Regions from separate parts of the Homo sapiens genome. Here all the other regions are linked to region 1. Evidence: promoter capture Hi-C in human tissues and cell types (Jung and others, 2019). All regions are on one chromosome and are shown on one strand. Each heading gives the region's core, a stretch centred on a gene start or on the middle of the fragment in contact. The rest is flanking DNA. Distances are from core to core; before and after follow the strand shown.

Region 1 (3,878 bases), core at 924-3,423:
CCCTGCCAGGTGAGTTATTTTGAGAGCATTTTTTTCTTTTTTTTTTTTTTGAGACAGAGTTTCGCTCTCGTCGCCCAGGCTGGAGTGCAATGGTGCAATCTCGGCTCACTGCAACCTCCGTCTCCCAGGTTCAAGCGATTCTTGTGCCTCAGCCTCCTGAGTAGCTGGAACTACAGGCATGCACCACCACGCCCGGTTAATTTTTGTATGTTTGGTAGAGATGGGGTTTCACCATGTTGGCCAGGCTGGTCTCAAACTCCTGACTGCAGGTGATCCGCCCGCTTCGGCCTCCCAAAGTGCTGGGATTCCAGGCGTGAGCCACGGCACCCGGCCGAGAGCATTTTTTAAAAGGGTGAAGTGCCACAGCCGGCAGTTCTCATCAGCCAGAGCGCAGAATGAGAGTACTGAACATGGGGAAGGGGCTTGGTGGGGTGGGTGATGAGCAGGTGAAAGATTTGTAAAAAAGAAAAGGAGGGGTTGAGAAGGGTAATCTTACTTTGAAATTCTACCTGGGGCGCTCAGGAGACGGTCTGCCGTTGAAAGTCACCTCAGCGGCTGGACTAGATTAGTAAGAATGACAACATCGCATCCTTCAAAGGCTCTGCCTCGGCTGCACTGAGACACGATAAAGGCCAGTCTTTAAAAACTGAGTGATCTCTAAACACTCTGCACTAGTCATACCACCACCGTCCCGTTCAAGAGTCTGTGCCTCTAAGGCTGTTCATTCTGTCTAGTTCATGATCCCTTTCTCAGATGGATCAACTCTGCTTATCCTTGAAGACTTCAAAGAAATTAGTGAGAGACAGTCACCATCACCAGAGTCAGCACAGGTCAACTTTTCTCTACAGGCTTGGGGTTTCTGAAGTTGGACTTGATGTGGAGAAGCTGGATAGCAACCAAAATGATTGAAGGGCTGTGGCGCTGGCACTGGTAAGAATGAAAAGAATTAGGGTTACTGGACTTGGTGAAAAAGACATGAGGAGAAGGGACAGGCAAATAATAATCAAACACCATGAATCAGAGGGTAGGGAAGGTAGCCACCGTTCCTTTGCTTTTACTAGAGACTAAGAAATGGATTATACATAGCAAGAAGCTTCAGAAAAGATTTCTTACTACATAAAGGTTCCAAGACATTGGAGTTGACCAAGGGAGTCTGTGAACCCTATTATTTTAATTACTCAGCTCATGGAGTTGTTTTGAGGATTACGTATATAAAAATCTGCGTAAATGACGTAGTATACAGTGCCTGGTTCACACCGTGGCTCAAATGATGGTTATTATTATTCTCTTACTAAGCATGCTTTAAAGGCTGTCGGAAAACTTTGGGGCCACCTAGGAAATCGTAGTATAATCAAATAATGCTGAAATTCTTGTGTGTGTGTGTGTGTGTGTGTGTGTGTGTGTGTGAGGTAGGGGCTCACTCTGTCGCCCAGGCTGGAGCACAGCAGGGCGATTACGGTTCACCTCAGCCTCGACCTCCCGGGCTCAGCCTCCCAAGTAGCTGGGACCAGAGGCGCACGCCACCACCCTCGGCTAATTTTTCTATTTTTTTGTAGCGACACTGCCTCGCAATGTTGCCCAAGCTGGGATGCTGAAATTCTTCCCCTTCCAAGAATCCATCTATAATTATAGCCTCCACGTCATTCTCCCTATTGGAATGTTTAATTGACTAAAACTACATTGCCTTCATCTGCTTACTAAGCGGTGGATCCAGTAAAGACCACATCTTGTCCAAAAGACGGCAGCACTTAATTAGCGCTCAAATGGCACTCGAACGTTTGGGCGAGGGGGTGTTCAGTCGCAGCCACCTTACTTTGCGAAGGCACACAGGGACAGACGTTCGCTAAGTGCCGATACTTAGGGAGAACGAGAGGGCCTGACCAGGTAAAGACGGCCTCCGCTGCCCAAGCTACACAAAAAGGTTGGGGAGCCAGGACCCGGCAAGCAAGGAGAGAAAAGTTTCATGCGTTGAGCTGGAGTCTGAAGCAAGGACCTAACGGACACAGGGAAACGTCACAGGAAAGGGAGCCCAGGAGAGCAGACGCGGAGCCACCAGACCAGAAAAAGGAAAAAGCACTGGAAAACAGCATCGAAGTCACCGGAAAGCAGCATCGAAGCCACCGGCGCCAGCCTCATACCTGCGCTTCCCGCTCCCCTCCTCGGCGCCTAGTGATAACCTCACCCGCCGGCGCCCAATCCCGTCGAGCGTCAGGCGTGAGGCGGCGCAGCCAAACAGTCACATCCGGGGCCGAGAGGAACCGCGAACGAGCTGGGCGTGCGCCCTTGCTTCGTGCCCTCAACCCGCATGGCGGAGCCGCTGGCGCGCCGCGGAGAGGCCGGGCGAGTCGGGCGGTTTCGGCGCCCGCGCTGAGCCGCGGAGGAGGGGCGGAGGACGCCCCTGCAGCCGGTGCGTCTGCCCTCAGTGAGGCGGGGCGCGCGGCGGACGCCCCCGGGCAGGGGCGGGAGTGGTGGAGGCGCCGGCGGTTGGCACTGACAGGGGCGGTGAGCGAGCCGCTCCGGTCTCCGGGCGAGGCTTGGCCTTCCGAGCAGAGACGGCGGGAAGCGGCGGCGGCAGCGGCGGCCCTAGGGCCGGCTGGTGAGGCGATGGCGGCGCCGGCCCCGGGGGCTGGGGCAGCCTCGGGCGGCGCTGGCTGTAGCGGCGGCGGCGCGGGCGCGGGCGCGGGCTCGGGCTCTGGGGCCGCGGGGGCCGGGGGCCGGCTGCCCAGCCGGGTGCTGGAGTTGGTGTTCTCTTACCTGGAGCTGTCCGAGCTGCGGAGCTGCGCCCTGGTGTGCAAGCACTGGTACCGCTGCCTGCACGGCGATGAGAACAGCGAGGTGTGGCGGAGCCTGTGCGCCCGCAGCCTGGCAGAAGAGGCTCTGCGCACGGACATCCTGTGCAACCTGCCCAGCTACAAGGCCAAGGTGAGAGAGCCCCGGGCCACACCGCTGCCCCCAGTCCCGCTCCCCGGCGTCGTTCGCGGTGTTTCTCATCCGAGCTTCTGAGTCAGAAGCTTCGCCTCACCAGCCCGCCTTTCCACGGCTCCAGTCAGTATCTTCCTCACCTCCCCCCAAGATAAAGATTCTCTTTTCTTTGGATCGAAGTTCTGCTCCTTAACCCATCCCACTTCCGTGATCCACTTTTCAAACAACTAGGTAGTTTGCCTCACTCATTCAACTTTTGACAGTTTTCCCCGTTAAAGACAGACCACCACTCTTGTACCTTTTAATGCCCTCATCCTACTTTTCTCCCCGGCCTCCAGATAGACTTCATTATATTAAATAATCCCGGCCACCTTAACATGGGCTTAGTTTCTAAGTTTCTAAGTTTCTAGTTTGCTTTCACTCCACGTTTATCTCATCTTTTCCAAGCTCTGATTTTTAACCATTTGTTTTCATTATTTTCCCCCAAGTTCTCTTTAGTTCCCTCCACTATATTGGAGGCTTACAAGTGAGTGTAGTTCTAGTCATCCTGCTCACTTACAAGATACAGGCTTTTATAGAACGTCCACGGGCACCACCTAACATACTGCTTTGTCCTGCTGTTATTGGCTGTTTCCTTGCTAACTTTTTAATAGTTCCACATTGATGGTGTCTCTCTTTTTCTATTTGTCATCTAACGTGCTGATTACAGTTTCGCTGCATCCTTCCTGCATATTCCGCCCGCCTTCATATACAAAATAAAAATGTCAAGGAACAAGTTGTGGTACGGCTGAAAGGACTCTCAGGCCGAATAAACAAAGGGTCTTGGTCTTGAGTTGAGTTGAATGGTTAACAGCTATTCAGTATAGCAGTCAATCAAGATCATATATAAGAGAAGATAAAGTCTGATTGCAATGTGTTAAACATAATGAATGCATTAGTAACTAAAACGATAACAT
Region 2 (3,878 bases), core at 107-2,606, 500 kb before region 1:
CAGGAGTTCAAGACCAGCCTGACCGACATGGTGAAACCCCGACTCTACTAAAAATACAAAAATTAACTGGGCATGGTGGCATGCGCCTGTAATCCCAGCTACTAAGGAGGATGAGGAGGAGAATCGCTTGAACCTGGGAGGCGGAGGCTGCAGTGAGCCGAGATCACGCCACTGCACTCCAGCCTGGGCAACAGAGCACAAGTCCTGTCTCAAAAAAAAACAAAACAAAACAAAACAAAATAAAAACAAAAAAAAACTTACTCTCTAGTGGTGAACCATTTGCGTCTTACTTTGATCTGCAGGCAGCCAATTGGAAACCATTAATTAAGCAATATTTTAAAACACTTCTCTAACTATGCGCCTTTCTGCCAGACATACTTACGTAGTTTATATTTGGAATACATACCAAGATGGACTCAAAATGAAGTTCTTCTAATATATAAAAGAATATTAATACACTTTTATGTTTCCCAACTGTCACCACTAACAAGGATAGTACACATTCTTAGCTCAGTTATAAAAAATATTCCTCAGCTGGGTGCGGTGGCTCACGCCTGTAATCCCAGCACTTTGGAAGGCCGAGGCAGAATTCCTTGAACCCAGGAGGTGGAGGTTGCAGTGAGCCAGGATCATGCCACTGCACTCCTGCCTGGGCAACAGAGTGAGACTGTCAAAATAAAAAAAAAATCTTGTGCTTCCCCTATCTAATTCCTCTGTGTTACCCAAATAATAGCTGCTCCTAAGGGGGCTTACTTACATAAATATAGGTTGAAACATTATTACTCCCCTACTACATAAGGATAAGATGGGACGCTGGCTTCACAGGTTGGTTACGATTTGTAGGTGGTAGGTAGAATGAGTCAAAAAAATCACCTATGCTAAATGCCTCTTAGCGTTATCAATAGTCATGGTATGTTACACACTCCCCTATGCTAAAGGCCTCTCAGCATGATCAACAGTCATGGTATTTCATATACTCCTTATATACAGATGTTCTTCATTTGAGACTATCAAGTAGAATATATTTTCACTATCCAATTATGTTAAAGAAACAGGATCAGAGAACCTATGTCATACAGGAGATAAATGCTTTCATAAAGGCCTGAAACTAGATCTCCATCCTGTAATAACAGGAAATGATAAATATGTCCACATCCAAATCAAAATTAATGCTACGTACTCTAATGGAACTGGGCTCTGTTTTTAAAGAGAGACACTAACGTTACAGGGAGGATATCCAGAGGAGCGAGCCACAACCATAAATGGTTTCTCTGGAAACCATCATAAGAAGCAAGGCTTCTCAATCTATAGACAAGGTAACTGGAATCATACCGTATTGCTTAGAAGAAAAATCCAGACAAATGGATGTTTCGGGGAATAGGATTTTATCCCAATATGAATTCTAACAGATTCTCTCTACTAACTGAATGGGCTGCTATAGGCATCGTGCTTCAGCACAGAAGTACTTGAGCAGAAGCTATGCCAGGAATCTTGCACAAGGAATTCACTGGGTTTATAAGTCTCCTTATTCTCCTGTGTTTATAAGTCCAAAGTCCATTATTAAGATCTCTTTATAGAGAAAAATTCATTTATATCTGTACCAAGGTAACAGCTAACCATCCTCCAAATTCCCAAATGTGGAAAATTATCATCATGTTTAACATTTTAATCAACATATTACCGTTCTTCCCTAATCATAAAACCTCACTATGCAAGACCGCTTTCAAATAAAAACTTACCCAAACAGCTTTTCTGCAGCAGCTCTGGAGATTGTCTGGACAGGTATATTAGGCAATCCTGATGACCGAGATGGTGGAAACTGAGTGTGATTGAAGGAAGGGAATCCAGGTGTGTAAGGGTCACCTGTCCCCAGATGAGCCTAGGAAAACAAAAGAGCAATTCACTCCATCACATACTTCCTCAAAACTTCTCTGTAAGATTCAGGTTTGGTATAAGGCTGCAGCCCAACCTTAGTTTACCAACTTGAAGCCTCAAAAATCTGAGTGGCTCTACAATGTGACTCCTGTTTTCATGGCATATGGAAATTCTCAAATTCAAGGCACTATTGACAAAGTACTTTTAGCAACAAATAATAAAGCCTCAAAGTCAATGTAATCTATCTTCTTGCTTACTGCTAACGCCCTCCCAGAAAAAAGAGCAGTTAAGGAAGACACAGTGCTATTTCTGCTAATACAGGAATCCAAGAACAACTCAAGGAACTCAAAACGGTGATTTACTCAAGAAATAACTCACATGTCCAAAGAATGAAAGTTCTGCGTTAACAATGGGAAATTTAGTCTGGTCCATGTATATCAACACACCAATTGCATTTAAGCTTTCAGCATTTGCAACCTAAAAGAAAACATATAAAGCTCAGAAAATGAAGATCTGATCATACGAAATGAGAATACATCCTGGACATTATGCTAAAGGCCAAATGGTTACAGAGGACTAAACTTATAATACTTCCAAATATTTCAAATTGTTTATCTGGTAATTTATTAATTGCTTCCTGAAAAATTAACTCACTTGTTTGCAAAATAAGAGTAACGGGCCAGGAGTGGTGGCTCACGCCTGTAATCCCAACACCTTGCAAGGCTGAGGCAGGGGGATCACAAGCTCAGGAGTTCGAGACCAGCCTGGCCAACATGGTGAAACCCTGTCTCTACTAAAAATACAAAAATTAACTGGGCGCAGTGGCTGGCGCCTGTATTCCCAGCTATTTGGGAAGCTGAGGCAGGAGAATCGCTTGAAACCATAAGGCAGAGGTTGCAGTGAGCCAAAATTGCGCCACTGCACTCCAGCCTGGACAAAAGAGCAAAACTCCCTCTCAAAAAAAAAAAAAAAAAAAAAAAAAGAATAACAAAGGCCAGGAGTGGTGGCTCACACCTGTAATCCCAGCAATCTGGGAGGCCAAGGCAGGTGGATCACCTGACGTCAGGAGTTCAAGACCAGCCAGGCCAACGTCGTGAAACCCTGTCTCTACTAAAAATGCAAAAATTAGCCAGGCATGGTGGTGGTGGGCACCTGTAATCCCAGCTACTCAGAAGGCTGAGGCAGGAGCATCACTTGAACCTGGGAGGCGGAGGTTGCAGTGAGCTGAGATCACGCCACTGCACTCCAGCCAGGGTGACAAGAGACTCCGTCTCAAAAAAAAAAAAAAAAAAGAAAAGAAAAATAACAAAAACCCATCTAAGACAACCACTTTTTTGAGTCTCACTGTCACTCAGGCTGGAGTGGCACGAGTCACATCTCACAACCTCCAGGGCTCAAGCAGTCCTCCCACCTCAGCCTCCTAAAGTGTTGGGATTACAGGTGTGAGCCCTGCCACTTTTTTTAAAAATGCAGAAATCACCACTGTCTTTTGATATGTTCCACTCTAGTTCCTTGTGTATGTTTGGCTATTAATTTTCCTTTTTATAAAACATGCTTTTAGCTGAATTCTGTATATGCGTAAAACTGAGTTATACAGAGAAATAGCTTTCACTTAAGCACTTCTGATTAGGTAAGTGGAACTTACTTCATTTGTTGAGCATTTTAATAAATTATATTATCTGGTATGAGAGTTTAAGATTGCTGATTTTCAGAATGTAAGAATATTAACAAGAAATATCACTTACCTGAAGAGTAAGATACCAAAAGTACTGTATTTAATATTATAATAACTCATACTCACCTTTTCTGCAAAGGTGATTTTCCCTGCTCTGACAATCACTATAGATCCATTCACAGGAGTGTATAAATCCTCAAAATCTTTTTTAGTACCAAAATTAGCATGGACCAGTTTACCCTAGAACAAAGACATTAGATTTAATGAGCATTATGGTATCGGAACAGCTCTAAAATCTTGAGACAGAAGAGTGTTATAGATCAAACCT
Region 3 (3,878 bases), core at 960-3,459, 340 kb after region 1:
TGGGCGACAGAGAGACTCCGTCTCAAAAAAAAAAAAAAAAGATAATGGAAGATGCTTATATTCCATTTGGGGTGGGAAAAATTACAAGCAGTGTGGGCAAAAAATATACATTCATGGAAAAGTATCTGAATGATAAACATGAGAGTGAAAGAATAAAGTCAAATATGTGAGTTGTTTCATTAAATAATAAACTAAATTATTCCTTCCTCTAGATCAGGGGTGTCCAATCTTTTGGCTTCCCTGAGCCTCACTGGAAGAAGAAGAGTTGTCTTGGGCCACACATAAAATACACCAACACTAACAATAGCTGATGAGCTAAAACAAAAAAAATTGCAAAAAAGATCTCATAAAAGAAAGTCTACAAATTTGTGTTCGGCTGCATTCAGAGCCGTCCTGGGCTGCATGCTGCCCGTGGGCTGTGGACTGGACAAGCTTGCTGTAGATCCTCTGAGATTGGGTTAAGTAAAAAAAAAAAAAACCCAGGTTTATGCTGAATATAAGAAGTATACATAAAATAATATGAAAAAGAAAGGTTGAAAATGAAGTGACATTTAAAGAGGCTGGGCGCTGTGTCTCACATCTGCAGTCTGAACACTTTGGGAGGCCTAAAATTACTGTAGATGGGAGGATTGCTTGAGCCCAAGAGTTTCAAATCAGCCTAGGCAACCAAGCGAGACCCCGTTTCTATAAAAAATTTAAAAAACTTAGCTGGCCATGGTGGCAGCCTGTGGTCCCAGTTATCCAGAAGGCTGCGGTGGGAGGATCACTTGAGCCTGGGAGGTCGAGGCTGCAGTGAACCCTGATCACGCCACTGCACTCCTGCCTGGGTGACAGACTGAGACCTTGTCTCAATTTAAAACAAATAAAAAAGGCAACTACAGGAAAGTTAAACAACCTGTTCCTGAATAACTCCTGGGTAAATAAAGAAATTAAGGCAGAAATCAAGAAGTTCTTTGAAACCAATGAGAACAGAGAGACAATGTACCAGAATCTCTGGGACACAGCTAAAGCAGTGTTAAGAGGGAAGTTTATAGCACTAAATGCCCACATCGAAAAGCTGGAAAGATCTCAGATCAACATCCTGACATCACAATTAAAAGAACTAGAGAAGCGGCTGGGCGTGGTGACTCATGCCTGTAATCCCAGCACTTTGGGAGGCTGAGGCGGGTAGATCACCTGAGGTCAGGAGTTTGAGATGAGCCTGACCAACATGGAGAAACCCCATCTCTACTAAAAATACAAAATTGGCTGGGTGTGGTGGCACATGCCTGTAATCCCAGCTACTTGGGAGGCCGAGGTAGGAGAATCACTTGAACCCGGGAGGTGGAGGTTGTGGTGAGCTGAGATTGCGCCATTGCACTCCAGCCTGGGCAAGAAGAGTGAAACTCTGTCTCAAAACAAACAAACAAAAACAACAACAAGGAAATAGAGAAGCAAGAGCAAACAAATCCAAAAGCTAGCAGAAAACAAGAAATAACTAAGATCAGAGCAGAACTGAAGGAGATAGAAACACAAAAAAACCCTTCAAAAAATCAGTGAATCCAGGAGCTGGATTTTTTGAAAAAATTAACAAAAAATACCTCTAGCTAAACTAAAGAAGAAAAGAGAGAAGAATCAAATAGACACAATAAAAAATGATAAAGGGGATATCACCATTGACCCCACAGAAATATACAAATTACTATCAGAGAATACTATAAAGACCTCTACACAAATAAACTAGAAAATCTAGAAGAAACGGATAAATTCCTGGACACATACACCTTCCCAAGACTAAATCAGGAAGAAGTGGAATGTCTGAATAGACCAATAACAAATTCTGAAATTGAGGCAGTAATTAATAGCCTACCAACCACAAAAAGCCCAGGACCAGATGGATTCACAGCCAAATTCTACCAGAGGTACAAAGAGGAGCTGATACCATTCCTTCTGAAACTATTTCATAACAATTGAAAAGGAGGAACTCCTCCCTAGCTCATTTTATGAGGCCGGCATCATCCTGATACCAAAACCTGGCAGAGACACAAAAAAAGAAAATTTCAGGCCAATATCCCTGATGAACATCGGTGCGAAAAATTCTCAATAAAATGCTGGCAAACCAAATCCAGCAGCACATCAAAAAGCTTATCCACCATGATCAAGTTGGCTTCATCCCTGGGATGCAAGGCTGATTCAACATATGCAAATCAGTAAACATAATCCGTCATATAAACAGAACCAGTGACGAAAACCACATGATTATTTCAGTAGATGCAGAAAAGACCTTCGATAAAATTCAGCATCCCTTCATTTAAAAACTCTCAATAAACTAGGTATTCATCAAACATATCTCAATAATAAGAGCTATTTATGACAAACCCATAGCCAATATCAGTGGGCAAAAGCTGGAAACATTCCCTTTGAAAACTGGCACAAGACAAGGATGCCCTCTCCCATCACTTCTATTCAACATAATATTGGAAGTTCTGGCCAGGGCAATCAGGCAAGAGAAAGAAATACAGGGTATTCAGATAGAAAGAGAGGAAGTCAAATTGTCTCTTGCAGATGGCATGATTCTATATTTAGAAAATGCCATCGTCTCAGCCCCAAAACCCCTTACGTTGATAAGAAACTTTAGCAAAGTCTCAGGATACAAAATCAATGTGCAGAAATCACAAGCATTCCTATACGCCAGCAATGGACAAGCAGAGAGCCAAATCATGAATGAACCCCCATTCACAATTGCTACAAAGAGAATAAAATACCTAGGAATACAGTTTATAAGGGATGTGAAGGACCTCTTCAAGGAGAACTACAAACCACTGCTCAAGGAAGTAAGAGAGGACACAAACAAATGGAAAAATATTCCATCCTCGTGGATAGGAAGAACCAGTATCTTGAAAATGGCCATACTGCCCAAAGTAATCTTTTTTTTTTTTTTTTTTTTTTTTTTTTTGAGATGGAGTCTCGCTCCATTGCCCAGGCTGGAATGCAGTGGCATGATCGTGGCTCACTGCAACCTCCACTTCCCGGGTTCAAGCAATTCTCCTGCCTCAGCCTCCCGAGTAGGTGGGACTACAGGCATGCACCACCATGCCCAGCTAATTTTTTGTATTTTTAGTAGACACAGGGTTTCGCCGTGTTAGCCAGGATGGTCTCGATGTCCTGACCTCGTGATCCGCCTGCCTCGGCCTTCCAGAGTGCTGGGATTATAGATGTGAGCCACCACTCCTGGCTGCCCAAAGTAATTAATAGATTTAATGCTATTCCCATCAAACTACCATTGGCATTCTTCACAGAATTAGAAAAAACTACTTTAAAATTCATATGGAAACAAAAAAGAGCCTGTATAGCCAAGACAATCCTAAGCAAAAAGAACAAAGCTGTAGGCATCACATACCTAACTTCAAACTATACTACAAGGCTACAGTAGCCAAAACAACGTGGTATTGGTACCAAAACAGGCATATAGACCAATGGAACAGAACAGAGACCTCAGAAATAACACCACACATACACAACCATCTCATCATTGACAAACCCGACAAAAGCAATGGGGAAAGGATTCCCTATTTAATAAATGATGCTGGGAAAACTGGCTAGCCATATGCAGAAAACTGAAACTGGACCCCTTCCTTACACCTTATACAAAAATTAACTCAAGATGAATTAAAGACTTAATTGTAAAACACAAAATCGTAAAAACCCTAGAAGAAAACCTAGGCAGTACCATTCAGGACATAGGCGTGGGCAAAGACTTCATGACAAAAACACCAAAAGCAATTGCAGCAAAAGCCAACATGGATTCTAATTAAACTAAAGAGTTTCTGCTCAGCAAAAGAAACTATCATCAGAGTGAACAGGCAACCTATAGAATTGGATAAAATTTTTGCAGTCTA
Region 4 (3,878 bases), core at 1,379-3,878, 340 kb before region 1:
ATAAAGGCTAAAGTGGGCCGGGAATCTTTTTCATAAGCCTCACGTCTCTCATGAGATTTGGAAAATGATTCCTGTGCTTCCCGCTTTTGTCTTTCTGTGCTGGAATTGTTTCCCAGGGCTGCCATGACAAAATACCACAAATCAGATGGCTTAAAACAACAGACATGTCTTGTCTCATTGTGCTGGAGGCTAGAAGTCCACAGCGAAGGAGCCAGCAGGGCCCTGCTCCCTTTGAGCCCTGCAGGGGGTCCCAGCCTCTCCCTAGTTTCCTAGTTGCCAGCAGTCCTGGACCATCCTTGACCAGCATTTGCGTCACTCCCATTTCTGCCTCCATTATCTCGTTATATTCTCCCCTTGTGTTTCTGTGTGTCTTCTATTTTTTTTTTTTTTTTTGAGACAGAGTCTTGGTCTGTTGCCCAGGCTGGAGTGCAGTGGTGCCATCTCAGGTTAAGCAATTCTCTTGCCTCAGCCTCCCAAGTAGCTGGGATTACAGGCATGTACCACCACGCCCGGCTAATTTTGCATTTTTAGTAGAGACGGGGTTTCGCTATGTTGGCCAGGCTGGTCTCAAACTCCTGACCTCAGGTGATCCACCCGCCTCAGCCTCCCAAAGTATTGGGATTATAGGCGTGAGCCACTGTGCCCCTCCATCTCATCTATTTTTAGGACACCAGTCAAATTGGATTAAGGGCCCACCCTATTCCATTATGACCTCATCTTAACTAATTACATTTGTAACAAACTGTTCTTAAATAAGGTCACGAGTACCGGGGGGCAGGACTTCAACATAGCTTTTTGGGGACACAATTTAACCTGTAACACGTGTGTTAGTTAACAAACCTTACATTTGTCTCCTTGCTTCTTCCTTTCCTTTTCTACCTATGACTTCCTAAAATCCTATAACCCATCAACACCAGCAGAAGCATTAGCATTAGCTACAGGACCTACCTACACCATGTGCCGGGCACTTTCACACATTACACTTCAATTTTCACAACCCCAGGAGTCATTTTTCCCATTTTACAAAGGAAGAAACAGACCCAGAGATGTTCTTGCTCAAAGGCACATAAGGAACGGGGCTAGAATTTATACCCAGGTATGTCTTGACTCCTCCACACATCTGTCTTCTCCTTACCCTGCCCTTCATCTTCACAACGCTTCTGAAAATTCTCTCAAAGGCATGTTGGCCCACCTTCTACGTGCTGCCTTCTCTAACCTCAAAGATGACTTTTCCACCAAATGCAATGACTTCTAACCCAGTCTTGTTCTCCTTCTCTCTCCATCCTGTCTCCTTGCTGGTCTTCTACTCCCAAGGCATAATGACTGCCCTACAGTTTAACAGAGTGAGTTCACGTACATTCTCATTTGATCTACGTACATGCCTCCCAAATGTGAACTTCCAGGCACATAGGAGGTAGAATGAAAGGGGCTATGGGAATAGAGAGAGAAGTCCCCGGAATGAGTCAGGGACTGAAGGGGCAGAAAGGTTCTGGGTCCCAGAAGTACTTGAGACCAGGCCGAAAGATAAAAGCCGTGTGATGGCCGAGCCTGCCCATGGTTAATGTGGGGGAGCCTGGGTGAGCCACGCCAGCCTTGAAGAAGCTGAGGTTTCCACACAATGTACTCAGGGAGGGCAATACTAAGATAAATGGTGCTTCCAGGGCTTCTGGACAGTGATCTTCTTCTTCTCCCCTTTTGCCTTCTTTATTTGGTGAAATATTGATAAAATTTGCCATTAATGATTTTGAAGTGTCAGGTTCTGTGGCATTAAGTACATTCCCATAGTTGCACTACCATTACCACCGTCCATCTCCAGGCACCCATTAAACACATTCCCCATTGCCCTCTCCCTGCAGTCTCTGGGATGGCAGAGCTTCCAAAGGGCATTTTAATGGTTAATTGTCCATTATTCTAGGAGCAGGGACCTCAGGCACTTGAGCTAGATGGAATGACTCTTCTCTAATCACCCATCTCTTTATCCATTGAGTGCTCATTGGTAGCCATGGCTGAGAAAGGGAATTAAAAATGAACCCTTTAATCAGTTCTTATATCTTGTCAGAAACTCTAATAAACTACTGGGTAGAAAATAAGAATGTCATTTGCCTAAAGATGAAAATCCCACAGATTTTTAATGAAGTGAGAGCCTCAACCCTCTGTGACTGCACAGATCTGACGGTGGGTGGAACCTGCCCAGCGGAAGGGCAAGGCCCGGCAGTGGGCTGGCTGCGTTCTGTGCCGTGAGGGCAGGCCCAGTCCACCCTTGCCTCTCTTTTATGTTCCGCAGGTTCTCCTCATCCTGACTGCCCTACAGCCCTCCATCTTCTCAGTCTTGGCCAACGGTGGGCAGATTGCTTGTTCGCCTCCCTATTCCTCTAAAACCAGGTCTCAAGGTGAGCACGTTAAGCCTCCTGTCCCATCGTGGGATGGATGAGACGGGGAGAGTCAGGAAAGAAGGGGCCCCAGAACAGACATTAGGCCAGCCTGACTTCTGCTCAGAGTGTTCAGAAGGGATCTTCGGGAAATCCCAACAGAGGCTTTAAGGAAACTATGACCTCTCTGATCACACAGAAGAGAAGTGAAACCCCACAGCTTGAGGCCAGCCCTGAGGGCCAACCCAGGAAGCCATGGGTTCAGTCCTCAGCTCCTGGGAGAGGAATGGGAATGGTTAAAAAACAGAAGCCCATGTTGATTGAACACACATAAGAAATGGACTGTATGCCAGCCTCAGAGCACAGAAGTAGACAGCCAACTTCCGGTTCTGGCTCTACCATTAACCCGCTGTGTTATTTATGACAATTTCGTATCCCTAAGTCCTGATTTGGGGATAAACTGGAGAAAGTGTTGCTCAACTCCCGTGCCCGGGCTGCTAGTAAAATACCACCTCTGTAACTCAGCATAACCTACGCTGTATTTCACCCTACACTGCAGTGATGAATTGCCACCTCCTCATACTGGAGACTTTTCTAATGACTGTGCTGACACGAATGTACTACCGAAGGAAAGACCACAAGGTTGGGTATGAAACTTTCTCTTCTCCAGACCTGGACTTGAACCTCAAAGCCTAAGGTGGATGGCTTGGACAATGAAAGGATGCTGTACTCATTAGAATACAAGATTCCTTTACTGTCCCTCAACCTTGACCAAATGGGAAGCATTCCCCCTTGTCAACACAAGCTGGCAGATACATTTGACTCTACAGATGAAGGTGAACAATGTTAGAATAAAATTGCTTTGGATCTTGCCTGGAAGGTGTTTTAAGTTTTGTAATAAACAAGATGATGTCTGAAAATGTGTAACTGGGCACCTTGCCTCTGTCCATGTCACTATTAACCCTTCAAGGTTGTATATTGCTGGCTAGGTGCGACAGCTCATGCCTGCTATCCCAGCACTTTGGGAGCCTGAGGCGGGAGGATCACTTGAGCCCAGGAGGTTGAGGCTGCAGTGAGCAATGGTTGTGCCATACACTCCAGCCTGGGTGATACAGCCAGACCCTGCCTCTGGAAAAAAAAGAAAGCTTACTGAGCTTTCCTAAAGCAGATGAAAAGAAGAGTATATAGTATTGTGTCTGGCATAAGAAAAGGAGAACTTGGTGAGGTGAAATAGCACCAGCCCAGAGTCTTGAAGAAGCCAGGGGCCCTGGAGAACAGATGGAAGGTGACCTTTCCCTGACAGGTGTGCTACTACGGCACCAACCACGCGGGGCCCTGGTGGTCTGGGTCAGCCTCACTTTGTGGGACAATGGCTTTTGAGTCTTCAGTGACAAGCTAGAAAAGGAATCTCCTGACACTGTGGTCATGGAGCTTGATTTCTAAGGAGAGAGTCAGCACGTGGAAGCAAAGGCACCGAGAGTCCAAGTAAAAGTCCCAAATCCATAAAAT
Region 5 (3,878 bases), core at 871-3,370, 310 kb after region 1:
TTTGACCGCTCCCTTCTGGATTGGTGGCCCTCCAGGCTTAAGGCACATTGTCATTCTGCATCTATTTTTACTGTTATCTTTAGTATTCTTTTTGCCTGACTCTTGTTTTTGGATCTCATTTCCTGCATCCTGTGTATTCTTGACTTACTCCCATATTTGCCAGAGTACCTTCTCCTGTGACTCTCTGAGAAGGATGCATGGGAGGTAAATATTTTGATAACTTACATCTCTGTAAACCTTTTTTGTTAGTTGTTATGTTAGTTTCAGTCTGTCATTTTGTGGTACTTTCTGGGAGATTGCTCAAAATTTTAAATGTTTTAATGTTTTACTTTTAACTTCGAAATAACTTCAAATTTACCGAAAAAAATTGCAAAATATTACAGTTTTTCTATATGCTTCACCTAGCTTTGCTCCGAAGTTTTGTTTCAGTTTTTTTTGTTTGTTTGAAGACATGGTCTCACTCTGTTGCCCAGGCTGGAGTGCAGTGGCGTGATCTCGGCTCACTGCAACTTCTGCCTCCTGGGTTCAAGTGATTCTCCTGCCTCAGCCTCCCGAGTAGCTGGGATTACAGGTTCATGCCACCGTGCCTGGCTAATTTTTGTATTTTTGGTAGAGACAGGGTTTCTCTATGTTGGCCAGGCTGGTCTTGAACTCCTGACCTTAGTTGATCCACCCACCTCAGCCTCCCAAAGTGCTGGGATCACAGGCATGAGCCACTGTGCCCAACCTTACTTCAGTTTTTTTAAGGAGACAGAGTCTTGCTATGTTGCCCAGGCTGATCTTGAACTCTTGGGCTCAAACAATCCTTCTGTCTCCGCCTCCCACGTAGGTGGGTCTACAGGTGTGCACCACTGTACCTGGCCTCTCCAATGTTATAGAACTGCAGCACATTGTCAAGGCCAGGCAATTAACGTTGAGAGAATACTGCTAACTGATCTGCACACCTTATTCCAATTTTGTCAGTTGTCACATGACTTTTCTTTTTCTGAACTGAGACTCAATCCAGGATTATACCTTGTTTAATTGTCGTCTCCTTAATCTCAGTCTTTCATTCTAGGACAGTCTGTCTTTGTCTTTCAGGACTTTGACTGATGTGATTGAAGAGTATTAGCCAGTTATTCTTTTTTTTTTTTTTTTTTTTGAGACGGAGTTTTGCTTTTGTACCCCAGGCTGGAGTGCAATGGCGTGATTTCGGCTCACTGTCACCTGCGCCTCCTGGGTTCAAGCAATTCTCCTGCCTCAGTCTCCCGAGTAGCTGGATTACAGGTATGTGCCACCGTGCCCGGCTAATGTTTGTATTTTTAGTAGAGACAGGGTTTCACCGTGTTGGCCAGACTGGTCTCGAACTCGCGACCTCAGGTGATCTGCCCACCTCGGCCTCCCAAAGTGTTGGGATTACAGGCATGAGCCACCGCGCCTGGCCCTTTTCCTTTTTTATTTTTTTTTTGAGATAGGACATCACTCTGTTGCCCAGGCTAGAGTGCCATGGTGCAATCTCAGCTCACTGCAACCACAAACTCCTGGGCTCAGTTGATCCACCCACCTCAGCCTTCTGAGTAGCTGGGACCACAGGCACATGCCACCACACTTGGCTAATTTTTATATTTCTTTGTAGAGATGGGGTTTCATCATGTTGCCCAGAGTGGTCTCAAACTCCTGGGCTCAAACAGTCCACCCATCTCAGCCTCCCAAAGTGTGAGATTGTAGGCTGAGCCACAGTTCCCTGCTGGTTGTTTTTAATATTTTGCTATTATAAACAATGCTGCAATGAATAGCCTTGTACATGTGTATATTTGTATTATTGTAGGCATGTCTTCAGGTAAATTCCTTAAAGTGGGGTTGCTGGATTAAAAGGTAAATACTTTTGTAGTTATTAAATGTTACCAGATTACCCTCCAAAAAGATTGGATCAATTTGTAGTCCTCCTAACAAAGTGTGGAAAGGCCCTTCTTCCCCACCAAGAGAATGTGTTATAATTTTTGCCAATTGTCTTATAAATGAATTTGGACATCTTTCTTAAGCTTAAGGAACATTTAAAAAGCTTTATTTGTAAATTGTCTCCTTATGTATTTTTCCTATTTTCCATTAGGCTTTTTTTCAGTTATCTCTTAATTTAAGAGGTCTATATATTAGGGATATTAGGCCTTTATGATACATGTTGCAAATATTTTTTTCTAATTTATCAGCTGTCTTTTCATTTTGTTCATTTATTATTTTTTTTAACTTCCAAGCTTAATTGAGTTTTTAATTTCTGCTATTATTTTTAATTTTCAAGACCCCTTTCTTGTTTTTGGCCATTCCTTTAGAAAAAGAATAACACCCTGTTCTTTTTTTTCAATGGATGTAATATTTGCTTTTGCTTCTTTGAGATAGTATTAGTTTTTTTTTTTTTTTTTTGAGACAGTCTTGGTCTGTCACCCAGGCTGGAGTGCAGTGGCTCAATTTTGGCTCACTGCAGCCTTCAGAACTCCCAGGTTCAAGCAATTCTCGTGTCTCAGCCTCCCGAGTAGCTGGGATTACAAGCACGTGCCACCACACCTGGCTAATTTTTTTGTATTTTTAGTAGGGTTGGGGTTTTACCTTGTTGGCCAGGTTGGTCTCGAACTCCTGACCTCAAGTGATCCGCCTGTCTTGGCCTCCCAAAGTGCTGGGATTATAGGTGTGAGCCACCACACTCAGCCCCCTCTTTTTTTTTAATTGTGGTAAAATATACATAACATAAAATTTACTATTTTGACCATTTTTAGGTGTACAGTTCATTGGCATTAAAGTACATTCGCATTGCTGTGCAACCATCACCACCATTCATCTCCAGGAACCTTTTTATCTTCCCAAACTGAAATTCTGTACCCATTAAGCAATAACTCCCTTTTCTCCCCCTCCCTGTTGGTTTATAAAAGTTGACTTTATATAGTTTTTGCTTTTATCTGTTTGTTTTGGTCTGTTTTTATCCCTAGACATCTGGTGATTCTTGGTCATCCTTTATTTTTTATTTTATTTTTTTGAGACAGAGTCTTGCTCTGTCGCCCAGGCTAGACTGCAGTGGTGCGATCTCAGTTCACCACAACCTCTGCCTCCCAGGTTCAGGCAATTCCTGTGCCTCAGCCTCCCAAGTAGCTGGGATTACAGGCATGCACCACCATGCCCAGCTAATTTTTGTATTTTTAATAGAGATGGGGTTTTGCCATGTTGGCCAGGCTGGTCTCGAACTCCTGACCTCAAGTGCTCTGCCCACCTTGGCCTCCCGAAGTATTGGGATTACAGGCGTGAGCCACCATGCCCAGCCCGTCTAGTTGTTTTTAATAATGACCACTAAGAAACTGCTTGGGAACTCTTAACACATGGTGGAATGTGTCAACTTTGGGGTACACTGTGGGCCATTTTGTGGGGTAATATCTGTATCTTTATGGATTTTTTTTTTTTTTTTGGTGGACTAGTTATAGTCTCCAGAAAAGAATCTTCAGTCTGCTTGTATGGGTGAGACAGACTGCTAGCATTCTGGGAGATGAGTGGCAAAGTGTGTTCGGAGTCTCATATGCAGTATATAATTCCATCTTCAAATTATGCCTGGAGTCCCTGTGTCTGCAGACTTTCCATTTTACTCTTTTTTGCATTTTACATTTCACTATTTTATCTAAAGGATAAACTTCCAATCTTGGGTGGGGGAGGGTCACTTACCTGCCATGTGGAGTTAAGTAGGGATCTGGAGTCTAACTGCTTCTTAAACTTTAGGCCACCCTATTGAGTCATTGTTCAGACTTATTTTGTTGTGACATCCCCAAATATCACTATCTGTTGGTTTTTTCTCCGTGAATGATCTGTTTTCCCCCAGGGACTAGTCGCCTTCTTGTGGGTATAGAGCTTCTTGCCAGTCTTAT
Region 6 (3,878 bases), core at 975-3,474, 260 kb before region 1:
ATAAATCTAAAACTATTTTAAAATAAAAACTTGGTTTTTTTATTTTTTTATTTTTTGAGATAGAGTTTCACTCTGTTCCCCAGGCTGGAGTGCAGTGGCGTGATCTCAGCTCACTGCAACCTCCACCTCCCAGGTTCAAGCAATTCTCCTGCCTCAGCCTCCAAGTGGCTGGGGTTACAGGTGTGCACCACCATGCCCGGCTAATTTTTTGTAATTTTAGTAGAGACAGGGTTTCGCCAGGTTGGCCAGGCTGGTCTCGAACTCCTGACCTCAAGTGATCCACCCACCTCGGTCCCCCAAAGGGCTGAGATTACAGGTGGGAGCCACTGCACCTGGCCAAAAACTGTTTTTTTTAAACAAAGGTAATGGCTAAGAATTTTCCCAAACTGATAAAAAAAATCAACCTGGCTGGGTGCAGTGGCTCACACTGGTAATCCCAGGACTTTAGAAGGCCGAGCATGGTGTTGGCACCTATACTCCCAGCTACTCGGGAGGCTGAGGCAGGAGAATCTCTTGAACCTGGGAGGCAGAGCTTGCAGTGAGCCAAGATCGCACCATTGCACTACAGCCTGGGAGACAAAAGCGAAACTCCATCTCAAAAAAAAAACAACAAAAAAATCAATCCATAGATTCAAGAGACTCTGAGTGCTCTAAGCAGAATAAATACAAAGAAAGTAATAGTGGCTAGAGAGGACATACCATCTTAAATTGAATAATAAAACTTACAGCTGACTTCTCAACAGAAACAATGGAAACTAGAAGACAAGGTAAGCACTTATCTACCTACCTACCTACCTACCTATCTGAGGCAGGGTCTCACTCTGTCACCCAGGCTGGAGTACAGTGGCACAATCACGGCTTACTGCAGTCTCAACCTTCCTGGGCTCAAGAGGTCCTCCCACCTCAGTCTCTCAAGTAGCTGGGACCACAGGCGTGTGCCACCATGCCCGGCTAATTTTTGTATTTTTTTGTAGAGACAGAGTTTTGCTGTGTTGCCCAGGCTGGTCTGGAACTCCTGGGCTCAAGTGATCCTCCTGCCTCAGCTTCCCAAAGTGCTGGGATTACAGGTGTGAGCCACCACGCCCGGCCCTGATGGGAAACTTTATAATAGATGGATCCATCTGACAATATCTGAACTCCATGATCAACCTTAACAAAGCAAAAAGAGATGACCAGCTATTTTGTACCTTCTGAGAAGATGCAATAGGATGTATAGAAAACAGTATTTCCCCAACCTCAAACCTATGGCTAATTAAGACTAGATCTAACTACTTATTTTCAAGAAGTACAGGAAATAGAAGACATATTAAACAATACCATAGGTATATAATCAGCAACTGCCAGAATATAGGAAACTCTACAGGACAAACAAACCAATTTCTTCAACAAATAAATGGCAGGAAAAAATAAATAAATAAATAACTGACAGGGCACAGTGGCTCACGCCTGCAATCCCAGCACTTTGGGAGGCCAAGGTGGGTGGATCACCTGAGGTCAGGAGTTGGAGACCAACCTGGCCAACATGGTGAAACCCCATCTCTACTAAAAATACAAAAATTACCTGGGCGTGGTGGTGAGCGCCTGTAATCCCAGCTACTCAGGAGGCTGAGGCAGGAGAATCACTTGAACCCGGCAGGCAGAGGTTGCAGTGAGCCGAGATCATGCCACTGCACTCCAGCCTGGGTGAGGAAGCAAGACTGTCATAAAAATAAAATCAAATGGCAGGATTAAAAGAAGAAAGAGAGAAATGAGGCAGCAAAAACAACACATTGAAGTAAATTTAAAGCCAGATGCTGTGGTGTGCACCTATAGTCCCAGCTACCTGGCAGGCTGAGGTGGGAGGATCACTTGAGCCCAGGAGTTCTAGTCTGTAGTGTGTTATGATCACATCTGTGAATAGCCACTGCACTCCAGCCTGGGCAAGATAGCAAGATCTTACGTCTTAAAAAAAAATCCTAATTTACATATTAACCAAATGCAATGTGTGGACCTTGTTTGAATCTTAATTTGAAAAAATTGTAAAAAGAAAATAATAGGTCTGGCATGGTGGTTCAAGCCTATAAGTCCACCACTTTAGGAGGCCAAGGCTGGTGAATTGCCTGAGCCCAGGAGTTTAAGACCAGACTGGCCAACAGAGTGTGACCCATCTCTGCAAAAAAAAAAAAAAAAAAGAAAGAAAGAAAATTAGCCAGGTGTGGTGGTGCACACCTGCAGTCCCAGCTACTCAGGAGGCTGAGGCAGGAGGATCACTTGAGCCCAGGAGGCCAAGGCTGCAGTGAGTTGTGATAGTGCCATTGCACACCAACCTGGGTGACAAAATGAGACCCTGTCTCTTTAAACAAAAAAAAAAGAAAAGAAAGAAAACACATACATACATATATGAGGCATATCTGAATAATAACAGCATATTTTATGATATTAAGGACTGACAATATTTTAGAGATAATAAAGATATTTTATTTATTTATTTTTGAGACAGAGTCTTACTCTGTCACCCAGGCTGGAGTGCAATGACACGATCTTGGCTCACTGCAACCTCCACCTCCTGCGTTGAAGTGATTCTCCTGCCTCAGCCTCCTGAGTAGCTGGGACTACAAGCGCACGCCATCACACCCGGCTAATTTTTAGTAGAGACGGGGTTTCGCCATGTTGGCCAGGCTGGTCTTGAACTCCTGACCTCAGGTGATCCACCCGCCTCAGCCTCCCAAAGTGCTGAGATTACAGGTGTGACCCATCACACCCGGCCCTTCTCACTCTTGTAAAGGCACTCTTACTGAATTGTCCAAAGGACAGATACCTCATAAGAAATATAGATGACTAAAACAAGAAGGAAAATCCAGCTACTCACAATACTCCTTCACCTCTTTGTTCTCCAATCACTACTTGCACCACCATTTTGTATCGGTCAAATCCCATTTCTAGAAAGAAAAAATAAGGTTATTTATAAGCAAATATGTAGTAAAATTACTTATTGAAGACAAATTTGCCCAGAAATGGACATAAACATTCAATCCACAAGTACTTAATGAATATGGTGGTAAGCTTGGGGGTCAGGAGGACGTGAAGGCAGATCCTAACTATAACTCAGCAAGTGTATAACCTCAGAAAGTAATTTAACTTTTCAGTTTAAGTCTCCCTTATTAAACAGGAATATCAGTACCTACCTCCCAAGATTGTTATAAGGTTAGGTAAGATATAGTAGTATCTTTTTTTTGTTTTGTTTTTGAGATGGATTCTCACTCTGTTGCCCAGGCTGGAGTACAGTGGCACGATCTCAGCTCACCGGCAACCTCTGCCTCCAGGGTTCAAGTGATTCTCCTACCTCAGCCTCCTCAGTAGCTGGGACTACAGGTATGCATCACCACACCTGGCTAATTTTTGTATTTTTAGTAGAAAAGGTGTTTCACCATGTTGCCCAGGCTGGTCTCGAACTCCTGACCTCAGGTGATCCACTCACCTTGGCCTCCCAAAGTGCTGGGATTACAGGCGTGAGCCACCGCGCCCGGTCAGATATAGTAATATCTAAAGCATCTAAACAGTGCTGTTAAATACTAGTCCTTCAATAAACCTTAGCTTCCTTCCTTTTTCCCCTACTATAAGTCAGCTAGTGAGCTGAACCTTCAAGATAGAGAAATAAATAAGACGTTTTTCTTGCCTTAAAGAACTCACAGTAATAAAGAACTCAAAGGAAAATAGAAAAATAGGCCGGGCACGGTGGCTCACGCCTGTAATCCCAGCACTCTCAGAAGGTGAGGCCAGTGGATCACCTGAGGTCAGGAGTTTGAGACAAGCCTGGCCAACATGGTTAAGCCCCGTCTCTACTAAAAAATATAAAAATTAGCCAGGCATGGTGGCAGATCCCTGTAACCCCAGCTACT

The links. The method cuts DNA at HindIII sites, captures the fragments that hold promoters and counts their contacts. A contact is called where the count stands out against the background at its distance.
Region 2: a fragment that was not itself captured here is called in contact with the fragment with the promoter of WDR53 in region 1 in 1 of the 25 tissues and cell types used here (lymphoblastoid cells).
Region 3: a fragment that was not itself captured here is called in contact with the fragment with the promoter of WDR53 in region 1 in 1 of the 25 tissues and cell types used here (mesenchymal stem cells).
Region 4: a fragment that was not itself captured here is called in contact with the fragment with the promoter of WDR53 in region 1 in 1 of the 25 tissues and cell types used here (IMR-90 fibroblasts).
Region 5: a contact is called between a fragment that was not itself captured here and the fragment with the promoter of WDR53 in region 1, in 1 of the 25 tissues and cell types used here (lymphoblastoid cells).
Region 6: a contact is called between a fragment that was not itself captured here and the fragment with the promoter of WDR53 in region 1, in 2 of the 25 tissues and cell types used here (lymphoblastoid cells and mesenchymal stem cells).

Annotation. Positions count from the first base shown.
Region 1 is chr3:196,566,381-196,570,258 of GRCh38, forward strand. WDR53 (WD repeat domain 53) reads right to left here and starts at 2,174. Exons shown (of 4, transcript NM_182627.3): 1 at 2,139-2,174; 2 at 497-927. It overlaps FBXO45 (F-box protein 45), which reads left to right and starts at 2,280. Exons shown (of 3, transcript NM_001105573.2): 1 at 2,280-2,922. The coding sequence starts at 2,605. RefSeq lists enhancers at 316-1,515, 3,533-3,878 and silencers at 2,237-2,776, 2,898-3,192. The HindIII fragment of the contact is 3,803 bases long and covers 329-3,878 here.
Region 2 is chr3:196,065,779-196,069,656 of GRCh38, forward strand. TFRC (transferrin receptor) reads right to left here. Exons shown (of 19, transcript NM_001128148.3): 7 at 3,677-3,790; 8 at 2,254-2,352; 9 at 1,740-1,879. Among named protein-coding and RNA genes, the nearest start is that of TFRC, 14 kb to the right of the region's middle. The HindIII fragment of the contact is 3,924 bases long and covers 1-3,318 here.
Region 3 is chr3:196,907,430-196,911,307 of GRCh38, forward strand. The region is part of intron 6 of SENP5 (SUMO specific peptidase 5); the gene reads left to right. Among named protein-coding and RNA genes, the nearest start is that of NCBP2-AS1, 31 kb to the right of the region's middle. The HindIII fragment of the contact is 7,535 bases long and covers 1-3,878 here.
Region 4 is chr3:196,230,135-196,234,012 of GRCh38, forward strand. SLC51A (solute carrier family 51 member A) reads left to right here. Exons shown (of 9, transcript NM_152672.6): 8 at 2,285-2,390; 9 at 2,929-3,293. The coding sequence ends at 3,065. Among named protein-coding and RNA genes, the nearest start is that of SLC51A, 16 kb to the left of the region's middle. RefSeq lists enhancers at 2,418-2,487, 2,608-2,897. The HindIII fragment of the contact is 3,062 bases long and covers 1,098-3,878 here.
Region 5 is chr3:196,879,518-196,883,395 of GRCh38, forward strand. All of the region lies in intron 1 of SENP5 (SUMO specific peptidase 5), which reads left to right. Among named protein-coding and RNA genes, the nearest start is that of SENP5, 14 kb to the left of the region's middle. The HindIII fragment of the contact is 5,535 bases long and covers 1-3,878 here.
Region 6 is chr3:196,304,095-196,307,972 of GRCh38, forward strand. It overlaps DYNLT2B (dynein light chain Tctex-type 2B), which reads right to left. Exons shown (of 5, transcript NM_152773.5): 3 at 2,849-2,918. Among named protein-coding and RNA genes, the nearest start is that of DYNLT2B, 12 kb to the right of the region's middle. The HindIII fragment of the contact is 6,550 bases long and covers 1-3,878 here.